Regions from separate parts of the Homo sapiens genome. Here region 1 is linked to region 2. Evidence: promoter capture Hi-C in human tissues and cell types (Jung and others, 2019). All regions are on one chromosome and are shown on one strand. Each heading gives the region's core, a stretch centred on a gene start or on the middle of the fragment in contact. The rest is flanking DNA. Distances are from core to core; before and after follow the strand shown.

Region 1 (6,421 bases), core at 2,428-4,927, 57 kb before region 2:
AATTCTATCGCAGTGAGCCACCTTATCATTTAGGAAAAGTTTTGCATCAGTGTAGGGAGCTGTTGACAAATCAAATTCCCAGAAGCTGGCATAGGTCCGGTCTTGCAAGCAGATCTTTTCCAAGGGGAGCAGGCAAAATCTAGGATAGAGATAACAGTCTCTATCTGAGCTTTGAGATATAGGCAATACTCGCTATGTAGGTACAGTCTCCTCTGCCACATCTTAGAATAAGTTCATTGTGTTACCTCCAAATTTTTGCAAATGCCTAGAGAGTTAAATTCCACCTTTATCATTTATCCATCCATTCATTCAACAAGTTTGTGTTATGTGATTTCTCGGAGTCATCCACTGTTCTAGGCACTGGGATACAATGGGAAAGAAGGCAGATAAAGTACTTACCCTCATGGGACTTCTGTCTAAGACAAGTTCTCCTGGCCACAGGCAACTGTCTGTTTCTGGCTGCCCAATCAGATAATGAGAAGTGGAGTTTAAGGTGTTGGCTTAACATTTTAGATATAAAATGTTATCTCTTGGAACCATAACCTATAGCTCAAAGAGACATGGGAGGTCTAAGAAGTTCCTTAATTAGGACTCATGCTAATTCTATTAGAATTCTTTTTATTGTTTTTTCACATGGCTTCCTAGTCTACCAACAGTCAGGAAAATATTGGTTTTTACTGCATATGTAAGTGTGATTTGAGGTTCTTTATTGTTTCCCTTGTGTGTTTCTATTTGTTTTTACTGAAATATTGATTTGCCTACATATGCTATGGCAACCTGGGTGAGAAAACAGTCAAATTTATGCGGATTTCTGTTGTTATTCTTGTTGCTTTATTTGCTTTTCCTGCAAGTAGAGTGGGGGAGCTCATTCTAATTTTCATTTATTGCATATTGTGGCTTGCTGATTAGTCACCAACATCCTCTGCATTACAGAACTGGTATTTGCTTTCATAACAAAATATACAAGGTGTGAGACACCATTTACCAGCTACTTGTGATGTTCTTCTACACATTCCAGTGTTCACTGTTGCTAATATATTTCCTTTTACTATGTGATTTTATCATTTATTTCCAGGGCTGAAAGGCTATTATTTTATATACAGGACTGTTTCCTATCACATTCCAATAGAGAATATATTGGATTTACAGGAGCAAAAATCTATACTTTTTCTTCCAAAATTACTTCAAATGTATATATGATGAAAAGTATTTAGATTTTTTAATTTCCCTGTGAAATAGAATGTGTTGCATACTCTAGCATAGCTTACCAGTTAGCAAACATGTACTTCAGGCTTGATCTTCAGGGAACTCTGAAAGGAAGAAATCTCAGTGGCATTGAATGAGCACAGCATTTTGCATGAATTTTTGTTTGTTTGCTTGTTTGTTTGTTTTTGTTTGAGACAGAGTCTTGCTCTGTCACCCAGGCTGGAGTGCAGTGGCACAATCTCGGCTCACTGCAAGCTCTGCCTCCGGGTTTCACGCCATTCTCCTGCCTCAGCAGGAGGTGCCCACCACCATGCCCAGCTAATTTTTGGTATTTTTAGTAAAGACAAGATTTCACCATGTTAGCCAGGATGATCTCGATCTTCTGACCTCGTGATCTGCCTGCCTCAGCCTCCCAAAGTGCTGGAATTACAGGCATGAGCCACCGTGCCCGGCCTTTGCATGGAATATTTTATTAAATCTGCAAATAACCCTGAGGGAGGTTGGGAAGAAAGGAGTTGGCACAGAAGAGCTGTGCCTGCTATCCTTGGAAAAGATCTGCTTGCAAGGCTGGACCTAGGCTGGCATCTGGCAAATTGACTGGTCATCATCTCCCTACACTGACATAAAACTTATCCTAAATGATAAGGTGGCTCACTGCCATTGAATTGTGTCTACAGTTTGTCCAGTCTTACTCAACACCTGCTTTCTTTCTTGGAGTCTGAATTTTTGGTGCATAGCAGAGAGAAGATGTCTACTTGACTCATCCCCAATAAAAACCCTGGACACTGAGTTTCTAAAGAGTTTCCCTGATAGGTAACATTTTGCACATGTTGTGACAACTCATTTGCTGGAGGAAACAAGTGCATCCTGTGCGACTTCACAGGGGGAGAAGAGTCTTGGGAGTTTGTGCCTGGTCTCCCCTGGACTTTACCCCATGCACTTTTTCCCTTTGCTGATTTTACTCTGTATCCTTTCACTGTAATAAGTCATAGCTCTAAGTATGACTATATGATGAGTCCTAGGAGTCTTCCTAGAGAATTACCTAGTCTATGGGTGGGCTCAGAGACCCCTGGCACAGGTGTGTATTGTTATCATGGACATTTACATAACTGAGGAAGCTGAGGCTCCGGGAGTTTCCTGAGGCCACACAGCTGGGAAGTGGCACAGCAGGTGTGGCCTCCTTCAAAGTCTAAAGAGACTCCCTCATTCCTCAAACTGAGGATGTGTGTACTGCAGAACCCACACTCAGAACCCTGGAAGCTGTGTTCTGTCTCACTCATGACTTTCATTGTTCCTGCTGGTCTAATGCTTGTAGCCTGTCTTGGGAAGGATTCATGAAATCAACAAATACCAGAATCTGGAAAGGCAGAGGAATATTGATTCTAAATTCTAATACTCAACAGGGCCACCACTAATGGCTGTCCATGTTGTGCACTGCACAGCACCACCCTATATAAAGGGCCAATATTCACAATCAATCAATATTATAGATTTGCAATACCTGAGTCACCAGTTCCAAGATACATTTTTTCCCCATACTTTAACAGTCCTATAATTTGGAAACATTTTAAAGCAATGGCATCTGGCACTTGTAACTGGCAGCATTTTTTCACTGGTGGTTTGTAAAATACTGATAATTCTGACAATCAAAAGAAACTTCAATTTGATAAAATATAGCATTTGTTATGAAAAGTTTACCCCCCAATGGCTGTGAGGTTTAGACTCAGTGTACTAAAACAATTTTCTCACAGATAGTAGGAAAAGTGTCATCAGGAAGAACCAGAATTTTAAAAATTTTTCATAAGTACCATATGAGCTAGTGGTGATGCCAGAATTCAGGCAAACATAAAAAGGACTCACCTCCTATGTGCATGCAATTAATGTCCATAATTAAAGCCAACAACAGTATTTTCCCTTTCAATATTTATATACAATTTAACCACTTTACAATTTTTAAAGGTAATTTGCATGTTTAGTATTCTCTCAGCAGAACAAATAAAGATTGAACACACATTTTTTACTTTGATATATTGATGCTTCTATTTATTTTTCTTCATGTTGAATCCAACACAATGCAACACTGACTTTTTTTGTCATTGACACAAGTATTTCATTTCATGCCTCATCGATTTCTCTCATCTGGGCTAGAACTGGTCCCCAAAGTCAGACAGGGGAAGCCTGAGATTCATCCACCATTCCCATCTTGCAGGAGTTGGTGTCATATTTGGTGTCTGAGACATGGCAGCTCTGCTCTCTGACCTGGCCCCCAAGTCCTGCCACTGAGCTCTCTGGCCCCACCTGCAGATGGCTGCATAGGAAGGAACCACATGGCTTCAAAGGGAATCCCTGACCAGCACTGCTAGCCCTCAACATCAGAAGTTCTCATTATCACAGGCGCTTGGTGCCTAGTGGTGGGACAAAGCACTTCATTATCAAGGTGTTTTGGTACCCCAGCTTTCAACGACATCAGCCTTTTTAGCTCCATATTCCTTCACATCTGTAGCAAATACAACAACCTTAACATATCTACAAACCACCTGGCTTATGTTTAATTTTAATTACTCAATTGGAAAAAAAAGTTTCTCATAATTAACTACAAGTACAGTTACAAAATATCACTTTGTGTTTAAAACTTCTACACAGTTTTCCCAGCCAATGCTAACACACACACACACACACACACACACACACAAACCACTTCAGTTCTTAAGTGTATGTCTTTCCTTATTTATTTATTTTTATTTTACAATCTCTACCAGGTGTTGATCAACAAGATTATATTTTTAGAAGGCTAGAAGGGGAATTTTACAAATTATATAAGTGTGGTAATTGTCAAATATATAGAATTAAATGCAAAAACTATATATACAGGACCATATGATCCAAAACTGGGATCCTTAACCTCAGCCCTGTTTATATTTATTATCATATTCTACTGGAATTTATATTTATGATGTGCTGTTGACATTTGAGGACAGATGATTCTCTGCTGGGGAGAACGATCCTGTGTATTGCAGAATGTTTAGCAGGATCCTTGGCCTCTACCCACCAGCACCAACTCTCCCAGATGAGACCAAAAAAAAAGAAAAATGTCTTCAGACATTGTCAAATATGACCTGAGGGGACAAAGCCACTCCTAGCCAAAAACCACTGATCCAAAGTGATTTCTCATTCAACTGTCTAAAGTCAATGTTAACTGATCAAGGATATTCTTAGCCCCAGAATGACCATCCTAAGGCAGAGAGAATTGTACTCATGAAAAACTTATCATTCTCCCAATTTTGTAGAATTTGAACAGGTGTTGCTTTGCATATTGATTGCCATGTCACTTGAATACTTAGAGGCATAAAGTAACTTATTATTTCTGATGATTTATGATTTATCATTTCTCAGTGTATTATTTCACTGGAATTTGGACAGGGCTCTCCTGGGCGGTTCTTCTGCTCCCATGGCATTGGTCAGGGTCATTCACATGGTGGGACTGCATATCTGAAGCACCAGTGCTTCTCCAGGAAAGCAGCTTAAGGTTCCTTTCAGTATGGAGGTCTCTGCAAACTCAGACTTCTTAGATGGGATTATTGATGACTGTATTTGAAGACTATCTATCACAGAAGGCAGAATGTTTCTATATCTCTGATATATTTTTCTGAATTTAAATTTTATAAATCTGCTAAGATTCAAGCCATTCATATCTTTCTGTTGTTGCCTTTTTTTTCTGAAATGGTAACCTCTAATAGAAAAGTGACTCAGGATAAACGTCAAAGGCATGTTTCAGGTGAATCTGCTTAAAACACAAGAAGGAAGGAGTGTTAGTGAGGGAGTGAGGAAAAAGAGGATCTGAAAGTGTAGAAGGAGGTGCTATGATGTCTGCACCACACACAAACCTTGAGCCAGGTTTGGGTTTCTGGGCTGGGAAAAGTGTGTTAATTTCCCAGGGCAACTATAGTCAATTGCCAGAAACTGGGTCATAGGCTTACCATATTCCATGTTAATGGGTTTAATGTTTCCTCACAATTTGGAAGGCTAGAAGTCTAAAATCAAGATGGTGCAACGGCCATTCCACCTCCAAAGGCTCAAGGAAAGACCCCTCCCTTGTTTCTTCCAAGCTTCTTGGACTCCTGGCAATCCTCAGCAACGCTTGATTTGTGGCTGCCTCACTCCAATCTCTGTCTCCATCTTCCCATGACCTTCTTCCACTTCTTCATGTCTTCTCCTCTTCTTATCTTGACAGTGATGATTGAGTTTAGGGCCTGTCCCAATCCAGTATCACCTACTCTTACCTTAGTTACAGGTGCAACAGCCCTGTTTCCAAATAAAGTCTCATTCTGAGTTTCTAGGTGGACATAAATTTTGGAGAACACCATTCACTCAACTAGGACCGAGGGCCAGAAACTGACAGATCTGATTCCTTTTCTCAAGATCAACTTACTGAGCTTCTGGGTGCACAAGTGTATGGATTCATCGTCTCCTTGGACATTGCAGAATGGAGGGAACACAAGATGGGGGCAATGGCCAATGCTTGACTGTTGCTGCTATCCGAATTTTCTTGTCAGTGCGCATGAATTTGCATTTAAAGTTCCAAATCTTTCCTTTGTCATTCAATATATTCAAAATGGAATTTCCTCCCTGTGAGCCCTAATGTGGGGCAGACAACCCAGGTCTAAACAAGTCACTGCCATGTATTAGTACCCTGACACTGTAAGTGTTGGGTCTGAGATTTGACAGGCACTCTTGACTCCAAGATGTCTGTATACTTGATAAACCTGATTGTTCAGAGCCACAGCCATTCCAGCAACCCTTGCAGCACTTGGTTGTCCCCAAATGGACACTCATTTCCTTCAGTCCCACTTTATTGCCCTTAATCCCAATGATTAAGAAAAAAAATGGTCTTACAGAATGTGAAGGAGGAGGTTGAAATTCCAAAATAGAAATTTCAGGGCTCAACTTTAAATTAGTCTTCTTTTAACATTTTTAAAACTTTTAAGATGAGGCCGTCATGAGTCTGTCTGACCATGCCTGAGAATTACAGGCTGAGAATTTAGATTCACTTTATGAGGTGCTGAAATTATTTATAAATTGGAATCAAGGCATGGCAGCACTGGAAGCAGCCTTGGTGCTCATCTTGTGTAATTAATTTATTATAAAGATGGGACACTGAGGCCCAGATGGCAAATGCCTGGCCTGAGATTCAGGCAATCACAGAAACAAGACACTT
Region 2 (7,247 bases), core at 2,580-5,079:
AACTGGCCCGGCTCCTTCCAGGGGGTGCAGAGAGCTGATTTTCAATGTATGGGCTGTCACATACCAGCAAGTGGCTTAATCTCCTCTATGAGCCTCAGTTTCCTCATCTGTACCAATGTACCAACCAAGGTCACTCACCCCCTCTCTTCCTCACCTCCATAAAGAGAACCCTCAGGTACCCAGTTGTTTGGGCCAAAACAGTGGCCTCTTCTTTCCCTCCCACAGTCCACACCCATCCATCAGCACATCCTGCTGGCTTCACTTCCACTAGGCATCATTAACTGGTCCTTGTCTCGACTTCACAGCTTTGCTCCTCTTACTCCAGTGCAAGCATCCAAGACTCCTGGGTGCCTTGAACCAGCTCTTAATTAGACTTCAGGCTTCCTTGGCTACTCCTATAGGCTGTGGTCTACAATTGGCCAGAGTGATCCTTCTGAAAGAAAAATAAGACCTTTCAGGACTCCAGCTTAGTGTCTTTGCACTTTCATTTTTATCAGCCTGAGAAGCTCTTTTCCCAAAAATTGCTCTCACTTCACCCACCTTCCTAAAGTTGCACCCCCAAATCAGACTTTTCCCTTATTTTGCTTTATTTTTGTTCACAACACATATCACTGCATTAACAGATACAATTACTTGTATATTACTTTAGAGTCTGCATCCTCCACTAGAATGTAAGGTCCATGAATTTAGGACTCTCGTCTATTTTGTTCACTGGCAAAACCCCAAAATTTGGGCCTGACAAATAGTAAGCAAGTGACACCTATTTGTTAAATGAATGAATGAATGAATAAAATGTCCAAGGATAATAATAATACACCCCACGAGTGTGAAGAGGATTAAATCAGATAGTGCCTATATGTTTTAAGAACAATGACAGGACACAGAACTAAGCATAGACCTTTCTATCATTTTTCTCCCTTTTTTCCTTCTTCCTCATTTTTTAATCGCTAATAGTAAGCACCATAGTCAGGACTTGATACTCAGTTTGCGGGATGACCATAGCTGTTTCATGAGGCCAACATATAGCCTTTCTTTTCCATGTCCTCGGCAATATATACCCATATGTCCCGTCTACAGGTAGACAATGCAAGAAGCCTTTGAACTAAAATCACAAGTTCCACCCCTCATTTTATGCGATATTCACAATTTAACATTTAAGCATGAACAAAACAATCTGAAGTTGCCTCATTGACTTAGGAACCCTGAAACCCTGTGGAAGCAGCAGGTTTCCTCTTTCCAATCATTCTCCTCTCCCATAAATTATGTTAAGTGCTTCCATGTGCCCACAGTCCTTAAGGAATTCTGCAACAGCCTTTGAGGAGATTAGAAGCCTCTGATGTTCCTTATGAAATTCAGAAAACCATCTGGAAGTAATCTAAGTTAAGGAATTAATGATTTGGGGGTTAAATGATACATGACTTAAAAAAAATAAATACAGAAAACTTTATTAGCCCATGAACCTCAATTTTTGTGGATTTACCTATGAAAGAGAAATTGACTATATCATCTGTTTTATTTGTTTGTTCAGTTTTGTGTGCATGTTTGTTTGACTGCTCTTGAGAGGGACACGCAATAGATTAAATGGAGTCCTAAAGGAAGGTTTGCAGAGAAGCTTTCATTTGCTGGGTCTCCTGAAGGCTCTCACAGGGGATGCCCGGAGGCATCATAGTCTCAAGGGGCATCTGTGATTCAGGATCACCTGAAGACAGTGGCTGCCTTTGGGGTGCTGTGCAGTGAGCTTATCTGATTGAGAATCCTTTCCCCACTCCAACCCCATGTTGAATTAGTATTTATTTTGCTGTGGCTTGTTTGGTAGCCCCTGGTTTTGATTATTTGCATCACAGAGATGTAGTCCAGGACCTGACTTGTCTTTGCAGTAGGGACAGCAATGTTCTGTGCCAAAAGGAAAGAAATGATGTGGAAAGAAGGTACATTATGAGGCTGCATAGAACAGGGGAGTGGAGGGCACTTCTTTGGGTTTTTATTTTTTGTCCCTGTTATCCAATAGGGAGGAGAGAGGATAAGGCAGATTCCCATCCTCAGTTACAAACAATGGGACATGTGTATTTCTCCCTCATGCTGGGAACATTTAAATGAAAAAAAAATTATTCCCCGGTGATGTTCAGGCTCAAAGCACTGAGAATAAAACGTACCTTCCGTTTTAGGAGCCCAAATCTACTTTACAACTGCCCCCTGCCCCCAAGGTCAGGTCTACACTAGCTGAATGTACTGAAGAATTGGGCGATTATCAGCATAATCCACTTTAAAAATCAAGTCTCTGCTATCCAGGCCTATGAGAATCAAGCTTTTACCGTTCCCTTTGGGGCCTGGATAGTTTTCAAGCTGCCTTCTCCTCACATCATGTGAGTAGAGCCGGCCAAGAAAACCAGGGAGACATCTCCCCCCAGCCTGGCCCAGACTTCCGGGCCCCACCCCAGGAGAGAGCCTCCCACTCTGGCCAGTGCCCTGCAAAGCCTTCGCCCCACCCCGCCCCAATTTCTCCTTATGCCTGGCTCATTCCTTAGGGGCTGAGTTGGGAGATAAGACTTGGGGTTGCAGTTGCTGGGGATCATTCGTTTACATTTCTTTTCTTTCAATCAAGGACTTCTTTTTTTCTTTTGAAATTCTTTCCTGCACTGATGGTGAGAAAAGACCCCTCAGGCTTCCTTTTGATGTTGGACCGAGCCAGCCCACGGTGAGAGGGGATGCTGAGCCCGTGGTGAGGAGCTCAGGACAGGAGGGGACGTCCAGAGACCTCCGAACCCATGGCCCTTCATTCCCAGTCACAAGGGGGGAGTCGGGGTCCCGCCCTCAAACTGCTCAGACCACGCGTGGCAGAAAGAGCAGAGCATGAGCATCAGGAACCGCACAGGGAAGCCGCTGAGATCACCTGGGATCACCACCATGAGGGAGGCCAGCCCTGGAGAAATCAGAGGGAAAAGATAGAGAGAACGAAGTCGGGGGGGGGGGGGGGAGGGCGGATCTTCCTTGTCTGAGTCTGCAGAGAAATTGCCTATTGCAGGAGCAAGTCTAGAGAGGGGCTATTCTCCACCCACTGAAAAGATAATAAAACACATGCTATGGGCGGCGGGGAGATGATTGGGGAGTGGAAGCCCCACAGACATGCAGTGAAAAATGATCCTTTCTTCCCCTCTGCGTTCTCGTCCCCTTCCCAGAGACACCGCTGTGATCTCGTGCCTCGCCCCCTCCGCACACGCACAGGTGCACACCCGCATCTGTCTTGAGCCCGCACCCCGCCTTCACGCTCCGCTGCGCGCTGCTTTTCCGCGCTCAGTGATCCAGTTAGGAGCTCTCCCCGCAGCAGCTGCGCGGGACTTTGCATTCCAGATGTCCCCAGCCCTCCAGGCTAAAGCAGCGGCCACCTGAAGTTGAGGAATGGGGCGTGACGACCACCAGGTCCCGCAGTGACCACGGGAGGGTGGGGAGAAGGAGTCCAGCTCCGCCTTGAGCGTCGGGTCCCTGGGCAGGACCCTCCGGGCCACGGGCCGCTGTCCGTTGGGCACCCGGGCAGGAGTCTGCGAACGCTGAGTTTCTCTGGAAAGGCGCGGACCCCCGGAGGAGCCGTCCCAGCCGCCTGGGGAGACGCCCCCTCCTCTCCCGGTCTTCTTTCCCGGGCACACCCTCCCTAGCCCGGGCGGGGGGGTTCTCCATCTGCCGCCCCTCCCGGCGGGCAGGCGAACTCTCTCCTACCGCACCCTCAATCTGTCCGCGGTCGCGGGGCTCGGCGGGGGCGGGGCCCGGGCGGGGGCGGGGGCGGGGCCGGGGGCGGGGCGGGCCGGCGGCTGCGGAGGCTGCGGAGGCTGCGGGAGAAAAGTTGTCCCGGCCGGAGCGCGAGCAGCGGCGGAGCCGGAGCCGCCAGAGCCAGAGCCGGAGCTGCGGCGGCGTGGACCCGGCAGGGGCGGGCCTCGGACAGCAGAGACGCAGCGGGCCCGGCCGACCGGGCTGCGGGAGTGGCCCCGGGCATGGGGCGGCCGGCGGGGGCCGCGGGCGGGCGCTGCGCTTCGGGCTGGCGGCGGGCTGCGTGAGCGGCCGGGACGCAGGATGCGCTCCGAGGGTGCGGCCCCCGGGCCGGCGGCGCCGCTGTGCGGGGCGCTGAGCCTGCTGCTGGGCGCGCTGCTGGGCAAAGGTAAGGCCGGGGCGGGTGCCTGGCGCGCCGACGCATGCGAACTTCCCGGTTCCGGGGGAGCTCGGGGTGAGGGCAGCCGAAGCGAGGGGTGCGGCGGGGGCCTCGGCGGGGGCTCGGATCCCATCAACAGCGCCTCTGCGGGTGCCGAGCCGCCCCTAATCCAGAAGGGCGCTCCCAGCTGGGCGCCGGGATCCGGGCAAGTTAGGCTGGTCCCGAGTCCCGAATCTCCCACCCCGGACCCCCCAGACCCAGAGCTGCCCCGCGGATGAGGAGGGGGCGTGGCTGAGGGACACGGTGTTTGTTCCCCATCCCTGAGTTCCGTGCGGACCTGCCCCAGCCCCAGCACAGTCACCCTGTGGAACTGGCATCCAGGAGAGGTGCTCCGCTCTGTGCGCTCCTTCCTCCCGGCTGTGTGCTCCCTGTCCACAGCTCCCCATCCACAGCTTCGGCACTGTGGGGCTGGTGCTCCAGGAGGGAAGGCCCGGTTCTTTGCATCCCCTTTCCGCAACCGCTAGGGTCTCTGTGCGGGCCCTAGAGGAACGCTCACTCATCGCGCAGCTCACCAGGGACCCCAGCTTGGCAGAAACCAGGGGCTCTCTGCGGGTTCTCTCAAATGAGTCCTTTGCGGTGGGGGAGCGCGGATGGGGAGGTGGGTGCGTCCCTCGCGACGGGAACTACCTCACCAGCGGTCCTGTCCGGGGCTCCTTCACCTCAGTGTCCTCTTCTCTACAATGGGAGTGACGGCCCTGCTTTGGGTTGGAGGAATTTAAAGGAGTTAACGTATGGCGCCCGCAGGGCTCACGAAAGGTAGCCGTGTGGTTTTTCCGACCTTTTTTATTATGTGCGTGTGCGGCCGAGTGGCCGCGCGGATGCGGCGGCGGGAAGGGCGGGGAGAGGCGGTCTCCAGCCCCAGGAGCCGCGGGGCAGGCGGGGAGCAAGGCCTAGGCTCTGCCAGGGCAGCAGCTGCCCGAGTCCCGGGGCGCGCCCAGGGCGTAGAAAAAGGAGAGCGTCGCTTTCCTGCTCCCCGCGCCCTGGCGAAGGTCTCGGGTTCATTTGGTTAAACGGAGGTGCGCACATGGGTGCCCTGAGCCTTCGCGCGGCGCCGCGGGTCCAGTATCGGCCCCAGGCTCTGAGCAGAGAACACTCAAAGCCACCCTTCTCCCGCCTAATGCTCTGAGGCTGAGCTAGAAATGCGTTCAGAGAGACAAGTTGTCAATGGAGGTTTAAAAGTAGCGTTTGCTTTTCAAAAGTCATTCTGCACCGCCTGAAAATCCAGAAAAATCTACTTTCCTTGAGGCTGCGCTTTCCCAGATACACCAACCAGACAAGTTTGCTATGTTTTATATAAGTGTTCCTTTCTTCCAAGAGCTCCAGGTAGGGAGGAGGGTGGGGTGAGAGAGGGGGGGGAAGAAGGAGTGAGAGAAGAGGGAAAGAGAGGGTGGGGCGAGAGAGGGGGGAAAGGGGGTGAGAGACGAGGGAAAGGGGGGGCAAGTCGGGGGTGGAGGAGTAGGAGAGGGGGGCACTTTTCTATTTTATTTGAAAGAGTCAACAGTCACGATCTGGTGCCTGAATTCTGCTGTTAATTAGCTCTAGGTTCCAGCGTTTCTAGGATTCAGTTTTCCTAGATGCAAAGTGGCCATTGAAGAATTCCCTTCCCAACCTACCTCCCAGCAGTTTTTTGTTGATAAAATGACTGAATGGGTAGTAAAGCACTTTGCAGAGGAAGGCGGTGCTAATTGAGCAGGGCGTGACCGACCTCCTCCGGGTTTTCACCCCTTGCCCTTGAGAGAATTTAACCAGGCGAACTGGATGTTCCCTTTAAAGCAAGTGTGGACTGTTCTTCATTAAGGCTCACATTCCGTGTGTGTGTGTGTGTGTGTGTGTGTGTGTATCCAGAGGATTTTACTTTTGATTACGAGAGTGGCTGTTACAGATGTCCATGTGTTCAGTGCTGGGGGCAGTGATTTGGCTGGAAAGGCAACTGGGACTGGATTTGAAGCTGATATTTGCACAACAAGGGAAAGTGCTGAAAACTAGGGACGTAGCGAAGCCCCACCCCTATCCCAAACCGCCTCTGCCCTCTAGCTAAGTGCAACCTTGATTTGATGGGGCTTTCTTTCCCTGCTTTTTGCTTTACAAAGTTCACCACGTGATTTGGGGGTGCATAAGGGCCTGCAACTTATCATCTGCAAAATACATTTTCCGTTTGTTTCTCATGATCAAAAGCAGCAGTTCATTCCCCCCTCGGATTCCTCCACACGTAAAGCGTTTGCACCGTAAGATATCTTCTAGAGAGGAAAGTTTGCTGACCTTGTTTACATTTCTGCTGTCTTTAAAAAAAAAAAGCCATCTCTGTCTCTTCCTGCACACGGATTTAAGTGCTGATTTCTGGAATCCTTGAAACCACTGATTAATTTTTAATACCAATTGTCTGTTTATTTTTGACTGTGGATTTAGAGGCTTTGCAATTTGTCAGGGTTCGGAAAAGGCAGAATTGTTCTTGGGAGGTTCCATAAATAGGACAGGGCATTGAAAGAAAGAAATCTTTTCCTAAGATTTAAGACTTGGGCCGAGGCAGGAGAGGCAAAACATCCTTGAATTAGAGGTTGATGTATTGCGCCTGTATAAAGCAAGTGGAAGGGCGGTGCCAGGCTGAGATGCCCTCGGAAGTTTAGTGATGGTTGTTAGTCACATATGAGACCTTCTGGGAAGGTTATGTGGGACCACATTCTCTTTTCTGAAATCTGTGGGGGCAAATGTATTTCAAGATTTAGAATTACTGATATCTTTGAATGACAAGATAGAAGGAAAGATAGAAAAATAGAGGCATGAAGTCATATGCATGTGTGGTATGGCACCCTTAGTCTGCGTCTGGAGTTGCAGCCTGTAATTGCACATCGTGCTGACTTTGTGTGCAATGTATGAATCTTTACCTAAAGAAGGATAATAAGACCCCAAATAGCTTGACTTCAGATCAGTGTTGGCCACGGAATGAATTAAATACAACCAACCAGCCAAACCTTGGGATTGTCAGTGCTTTAGGGGTTTTGGGTTTCTGGTAAGGGATTTACGTTCTATAGCAGGGATGAGAAATAGGATC

What was found. The method cuts DNA at HindIII sites, captures the fragments that hold promoters and counts their contacts. A contact is called where the count stands out against the background at its distance.
Region 1: a contact is called between a fragment that was not itself captured here and the fragment with the promoter of TMEM132C in region 2, in 2 of the 25 tissues and cell types used here (H1 embryonic stem cells and stomach).

Annotation. Positions count from the first base shown.
Region 1 is chr12:128,206,254-128,212,674 of GRCh38, forward strand. No RefSeq gene overlaps it. Among named protein-coding and RNA genes, the nearest start is that of TMEM132C, 58 kb to the right of the region's middle. The HindIII fragment of the contact is 4,855 bases long and covers 1,251-6,105 here.
Region 2 is chr12:128,263,341-128,270,587 of GRCh38, forward strand. It overlaps TMEM132C (transmembrane protein 132C), which reads left to right and starts at 3,830. Exons shown (of 9, transcript NM_001136103.3): 1 at 3,830-4,147. The coding sequence starts at 4,063. LOC107987176 (a long non-coding RNA gene) reads right to left here and starts at 3,692. Exons shown (of 2, transcript XR_001749176.1): 1 at 3,231-3,692; 2 at 1-433. RefSeq lists enhancers at 2,976-3,497, 4,033-4,871. The HindIII fragment of the contact is 10,344 bases long and covers 1,959-7,247 here.